2 separate regions of the Homo sapiens genome follow, and region 2 is linked to region 1. The links are contacts of gene promoters, found by promoter capture Hi-C in blood cells and fetal thymus (Javierre and others, 2016). All regions are on one chromosome and are shown on one strand. Each heading gives the region's core, a stretch centred on a gene start or on the middle of the fragment in contact. The rest is flanking DNA. Distances are from core to core; before and after follow the strand shown. Region 1 holds the start of HIRIP3 (HIRA interacting protein 3). Region 2 holds the start of ZNF764 (zinc finger protein 764).

The links. Contacts are between HindIII fragments. The CHiCAGO score rates a contact against its expected background, and 5 or more counts as called.
Region 2: the fragment with the promoter of ZNF764 here is called in contact with the fragment with the promoter of HIRIP3 in region 1 in 6 of 17 cell types (non-activated CD4 T cells, fetal thymus, naive CD4 T cells and 3 more); the score reaches 6.5 in non-activated CD4 T cells.

What each region holds. Positions count from the first base shown.
Region 1 is chr16:29,994,204-29,996,903 of GRCh38, forward strand. It overlaps HIRIP3 (HIRA interacting protein 3), which reads right to left and starts at 1,414. Exons shown (of 7, transcript NM_003609.5): 1 at 1,338-1,414; 2 at 1,140-1,260; 3 at 900-1,014; 4 at 1-640. The coding sequence starts at 1,402. INO80E (INO80 complex subunit E) reads left to right here and starts at 2,038. Exons shown (of 7, transcript NM_173618.3): 1 at 2,038-2,188; 2 at 2,344-2,414; 3 at 2,605-2,657. The coding sequence starts at 2,108. RefSeq lists enhancers at 1,762-1,931, 1,992-2,121. The HindIII fragment of the contact is 4,684 bases long and covers 1-2,700 here.
Region 2 is chr16:30,556,839-30,559,832 of GRCh38, forward strand. ZNF764 (zinc finger protein 764) reads right to left here and starts at 1,536. Exons shown (of 3, transcript NM_001172679.2): 1 at 1,149-1,536; 2 at 895-1,008. The coding sequence starts at 1,344. RefSeq lists enhancers at 424-985, 1,526-1,665. The HindIII fragment of the contact is 20,167 bases long and covers 1-2,994 here.

The DNA of each region.
Region 1 (2,700 bases), core at 164-2,663:
TGCACTGGGGGTTCTCTATCTCTCCCACTGTCATCCCCACTGCTGGCTGCCTCTTTCTGCTCTTCCTCGCTGTCTGAGTCTCCCAAGAGCCTCTTTGCCTGGCTTTTCTGCTTACAGCTCCTCTCCTCCCTAGCTGACTTTCTCCGGCCATTGCTCCTGGTTCTGGGTTTCCAATCCCCCTTTTCCTCATCCTCTTCTTTCTCTTCCTCCTCCACTTCCTCCTCTCTCTGCTCTTTCTTCTGGGCTAGGATCTCCTCTTCACTCTCCTGTTCACTTTCCTTCAGGCTTTTAGTTCCTTTATTTCCCTCCACCTTCTTTGCTGTCCTCTGAACGGGTTCTGCCTCGCTCTCCTCACTTTCTTCCCTGGCCTGCTTCCTACTGACTGAGGCCTTGCCTGGTGCCTGCTTCTTTACCACAGGTTTCTTCCTAGTCTTCCCCTTGTACCCCTTTTCCTCCTCCTCACTGCTCTCCTCTCCCCTCTGTGCGGGCAGGTCCCTCTGCCGTTCCTCATCACTGCTCTCCTCAACTGCCTTTGAGGCTCGCCTTGGATTCTCCTCTTTGGCTGGGCTGACTTCTGCTGCCACCCCATTCTTTGCTGGGGGTCCAAAGTAGTCTGGGCTGGAGGCTTCAGAGCCGGACTCTGGAATATGGAGAGGAGAGAGGGTTGAGACAGGCTCCTCCTGTCCCTTCTCCCTTCACTTCGGATAGGTTGCCTCGAGCCCTGCCCTGACAGTTGGAGGGGCAGCAGGAAACAGCTATCTGTACTTGCTGTTCCCGGTTCCTGACTCACTAGCCTTGCTCCCTCATCTAACGCCTGGGGACATAAGAGATGCGCAGTGAATGCTTCTTGAGTGAACCAACGATGCAGAAGGCCCCCACAGCAGGGAGGAAGCACTAACCCGACTCTGAATTGAAGCGGAACCTTTTTCTCTCCGGGTCGCTACAAGGGGTGGGAGGCCTCTTGCCCTTCTTGGTAAGGTCCAGTTTGTCTTCCCTGGAAGCGGCTTCATCCACCTGTGTGTGCGCCAAGAGGGCAAACTATGCACCAAGGCTGCGCTCACCGCGCCCCGTCAGGCCCCTCCTCCTCAGCAGCAAGCCCCGCCTCCGCCTCCCGCGGCCCAGGCTCCGGCCCGGCACACCTGCATCTTCAGCAGCTCCTCCTCCACCAGCCGCTTCAGTGCCTGCTTCTCCTCGGGCTCCAGGTGGCTGCGGCCCGAGTGAGCTAAGTACCTCCGCCGCACGATGGAATGCGTAAGCGTGCTGCAGGGACATGGTGTCAGGACGGAGTCCCGACCCACCCGCGCCCTTTCCAACCCCATCTCCAACCCCCTGGGCACCTGAGGTCCGGGCGGCCTCGGAAGAAGCTACGGGTGAACTCCTGCATCTCCTTCTCCCGCGCCATTTTGCTCAACCCGGGATTGACGGCTCCCGCCTTTTTTTCTTCTCGGCCTCCGTCAGCGCGTTTGACAGCGGCTCGCGCACGCGCAGTGCTGCGGCAACGTGGGGCGAGGGACCGTTGGCCCTTGGCCGCGGACCGCGTGGGCCGAGAACTTTGCCAGACGAGACTTGTTTTCTCTGGGCAGTTGGAGGGTCTCGCGGCTCCTACCCTTTTTTGGAACGGATCATTTTAAAAGTTCTCGTTAGAAACCAATTCGGCGCCGGCACCCTTTGGGTGAAACCTAATCAGCCCGCGACGCTGCCTTTCTCACTGGTCACGGGCAACAGCTAGGCTGCTGTTATTTCGCAAGGCAGAAGAGAAAAGGCATCCTCGCGAGCAGATGAGGAACCTCGGGGATAAATCCTTTTGTGGCTTCAAGTGTCTAAGTACATTAGAGTCAGGAACGGCGCTTTCCAGCGTCCGCCATTTTTGTGGCGTCACCGCGTCGCTGCTACGCCATCCCCAGCGCAGTGGCTGCCGCGCTCCTGTCCCAGTGTCCCCCGGGAGGTCGGCCCGTGCGGTGACGCCCCTGAGCGCGGGGTACGCCGGGAGTTGTAGTCCTGACGGCACAGCCTTGCAGCGTCTCCGGAAGTGGAGGCGGGAGCGGCACGGCAGCCACTGCTTGGGGTAGCGGGAGGGCAGACTCTGGGCGCCACTCCCGGGCCGGTCATGAACGGGCCGGCGGACGGCGAAGTGGACTACAAAAAAAAATACCGGAATCTGAAGCGGAAGCTCAAGTTCCTCATCTACGTGAGTGCTGCCGCGGGAAGGCTGTGGGGGATGAGGCCTGGCGCGGACAAGATCTCAGTTTACCCAGGTGTAAAGTGGGTGGGGCGAGCGGCCGCTGGTTCCGGGGCCCTTCACGGAGGACCGTTGGCCCAGCGCACCCCTTGCCCGTGATACAGGAGCACGAGTGCTTCCAGGAGGAGCTGAGGAAAGCGCAAAGGAAATTACTGAAGGTGTCCCGGGACAAGAGGTGAGGCACGTTGCAGGGGCGGAGGGCGATGTGCTTCCTAGGAAATCTACATTCGGACCCCATCCCCGAGTAGGGCCACAAGTGCATGGGCTCTTTCAAGTATCCGATGGGCCAGCTGGGAGGGACAGGTACCCAGGAGGACATTGCTGCGCTGGAAAATCACTGTCCGTGTCTCCTTCCCTCCCCTCAGTTTCCTCCTAGACCGACTTCTGCAGTACGAGAACGTGGATGAAGACTCTTCGGGTGAGCAAGGTCTTCAAAAATTGGTGGAGAGCATGGTTCCTGG
Region 2 (2,994 bases), core at 286-2,785, 560 kb after region 1:
AAAAATACAAAAAATTGGCTGGGCGCGGTGGCTCACGCCTGTAATCCCAGCACTTTGGGAGGCCGAGGCGGGCAGATCACAAAGTCAGAAGTTCGAGACCAGCCTGGCTAACATGGTGAAACCCCATCTCTACTAAAAACACAAAAACAAAATTAGCCGGGCGTGGTGGCGGGCGCCTGTAGTCCCAGCTACTGGGGAGGCTGAGGCGGGAGAATGGCGTCAACCAGGGAGGCGGAGCTTGCACTGAGCCGAGATGGCGCCACTGCACTCCAGCCTGCGCGACAGAGGAAGACTCTGTCTCAAAAAAAAAAAAAAAAATTAAGCAGGCTTGGTGGCGGGCGCCTGTAATCCCAGCTACTTGGGAGGTTGATACAGGAGAATTACTTGAACCTGGGAGTGGGAGGTTGCAGTGAACTGAGATGGCACCACTGCACTCCAGCCTGGGCAACGGAGTAAAACTCTGTCTAAAAAAAAAAATTACCCAGGCTTCGTGGCGAGCACCTGTACAGTCTTAGCTACTCTGGAGGCCCAGGTGGAAGGACTGCTTAAGCCCGGGAGTTCCAGGCTACAGTGAGCTATGATGCCGCCACTGCACTCAGCCTAGACAACAAAGCGAGACCCTGTCTCTAAAACAAAAACACCAAAAAAAGCCCCCAGAGTGTAGTGACCACGCAGAGGTGAGGACTCAGAGGCGGGTATGGCAGGGCCAGAGCCCCCATCACAGCTCCTTTCTAGGCTGCATCTGGGAGCCACGCAGGGGCTCAGCCTCGTCGTCGCAGTTGAGAAGGCAGTTCAGAGAGGAAACTGCTAAGCAGGTAGCTGGAGGTGGCAGAGGGTACCGGGATGGGACAGGAACAGAGAAGTCCCCATGGGACTGAGCACCCGATACTCCACCTGGGTCCGTTTGTGTCTGACATTTCGCCACCTCCGGATCCTGGGCAGCCGGACCCCACAGTTCGGCCTCCTCCTCCACCCAGGAGATGAGAGCTGGCTTGTTGCCTCCGATTCCTAGGGAAGAAGAACGCAAACCCCACGCTGCGGGGAGGCCACCTGCCCGGCCCCGGGGCCCCCAACTTCACGCGCAGCTCCCAGAGGCGCGGCAGGGCCTGTGGGGGCGCAGGGCTCAGGCGAGCAGGTGGGGCTCTCACCGAGAGCGCTCAGGTGGCCGTAGGTCTCCCGCATCACGTCCCGGTACAGGGCCCTCTGCGCTGGCCGCAAGCAGCCCCACTCCTCCCGGCAGAAGTACACGGCCACGTCCGCGAAGCTCACAGCCCCCGGCTCCCTCCACTCGGGTCCGGCCCCGTTTGGGTCCCGGGGAGGGAGCGGGGCCAGAGGCGGCGCCATGGTAACTGTCAACCCCGACGACGGATCGGCTGCCTCCCCTGGCCTGGCCTGGGCCTGCGGAACCTCCTGCGCCCGAGAAAGCCTCCCCGGCCCGGGCCCAAGGGAAGGAGGGAGGTTACTAGGGCCCCCGAGGGCGCACTAGAGGGCGTGGAAACTAACGGTGCCGATGGCAGCGGGTGTATAATCAGAAATGGAATATGCCCTCATAAAAAATGGCGGCGGCGCGGGTACTCGACCTTTGCCCCTACGCAGTCGTGCCCAAGACAACGCCCCCGGTATCTCCAGTCCGCGTTCTCTCCGTACCCTCATCCAAAATGGCCGCGGTGACTAATACAGAGGCCGGCCTTGAAAACTAGCCGCGCATGTTTAGTCCCCGGCCCGGCGAGGCGGTGCAGCAGAGAGCTCCGCCCCGGCCCGGCGAGGCGGTGCAGCAGAGAGCTCCGCCCCGGTTTGCACGAACAAAAGAGCGCCTCGCGGGAGTGAGCTGGCCTCCCGGCCTTACTGAACTCAGGCATTAGTTTTCGTTTGTGGACCGTTTTATAATCGGGCTCCAGCTCATCACTCTCTCGTTTTGTCCTTGTTATCTCAGAAACAGGGCAACAGCAGTCTCTTCCCAATGTTGAGTGTAAAAAAACCAATGGAGTGGGCGTGGCGCAGTGGCTCACGCTTGTAATCAGCAGTTTGGGAGGCCGAGGCCAGCGGAACAACTGAGGTCAGAAGTTCGAGACCAGCCTCACCAACATGGTGAAACCCCGTCTCCACTAAAAACACACAAAAAAACAGCCAGGTGTGGTGGCGTGCACCTGTAATCCCAGCTACTGGGGAGGCTGAGGCAGGAGTATCGCTTGAACGCGCGAGGCGGAGTTTGCAGTGAGCCGAGATTGCCTCACCGCACTCCAGCCTGGGCGACAGAGCGAAACTCTGTCTCAAAAATAAAAAAGAAAGAAAGAAAGAAAAAGGAGTGGATACAGGAGAACCTCCTCCATCGTAGGCTTGTTGGGGCCTGAAATTCTGGAAGTTTCTAGATGGCGGAGGCAGTGGGGAGAGTAGGGTAAGGTTGAGAAAGTCAGAGGGTCCTCTCTTCTAGGAGCTTCTCCCATGTGCTGCTCAGGACGCCTCCCAATTGCCAGTCTCCCTGTAGCTGCAGCCGGGCTCTCACCTCCCCTCACATCCTGCCCCTGGACAGATGGCCCAAGGCTCCTCTACTCAAATCCAACTCATCCCTTTCTTGCCCCAATCTGCTTCCCCTAGGGTCTTTATCTAGTAAATGTCACCAACTCTCCCCCAGACCTCTCTCTCACTTTCTGATGGTCTATTCTGTGCTCCACGTGACTTCATACATGTCCTGTTGTAGCAGGACAAGCCACAGACAAAACCCCTCAGACACCGAGTTGAAGGAAGGGTTTTATTCGGCTGGGAGCATCGGCAAGACTCACATCTCAAAAACCGACTCCCCGAGTGAGCAATCCCTGTCCCTTTTAAGGGCTCACAACTCTAAGGGGGTCCCCGTGAGAGGGTCGTGATCCATTGAACAAGCAGGGGATATGTGACTGGGTGCTGCAGGCACTGGTAATTAGAACAGGACAGGACAGGACAGGGATTTTCACAGTGCTTTTCTATACAATGTCTGTAATCTATAAATAACAAAAC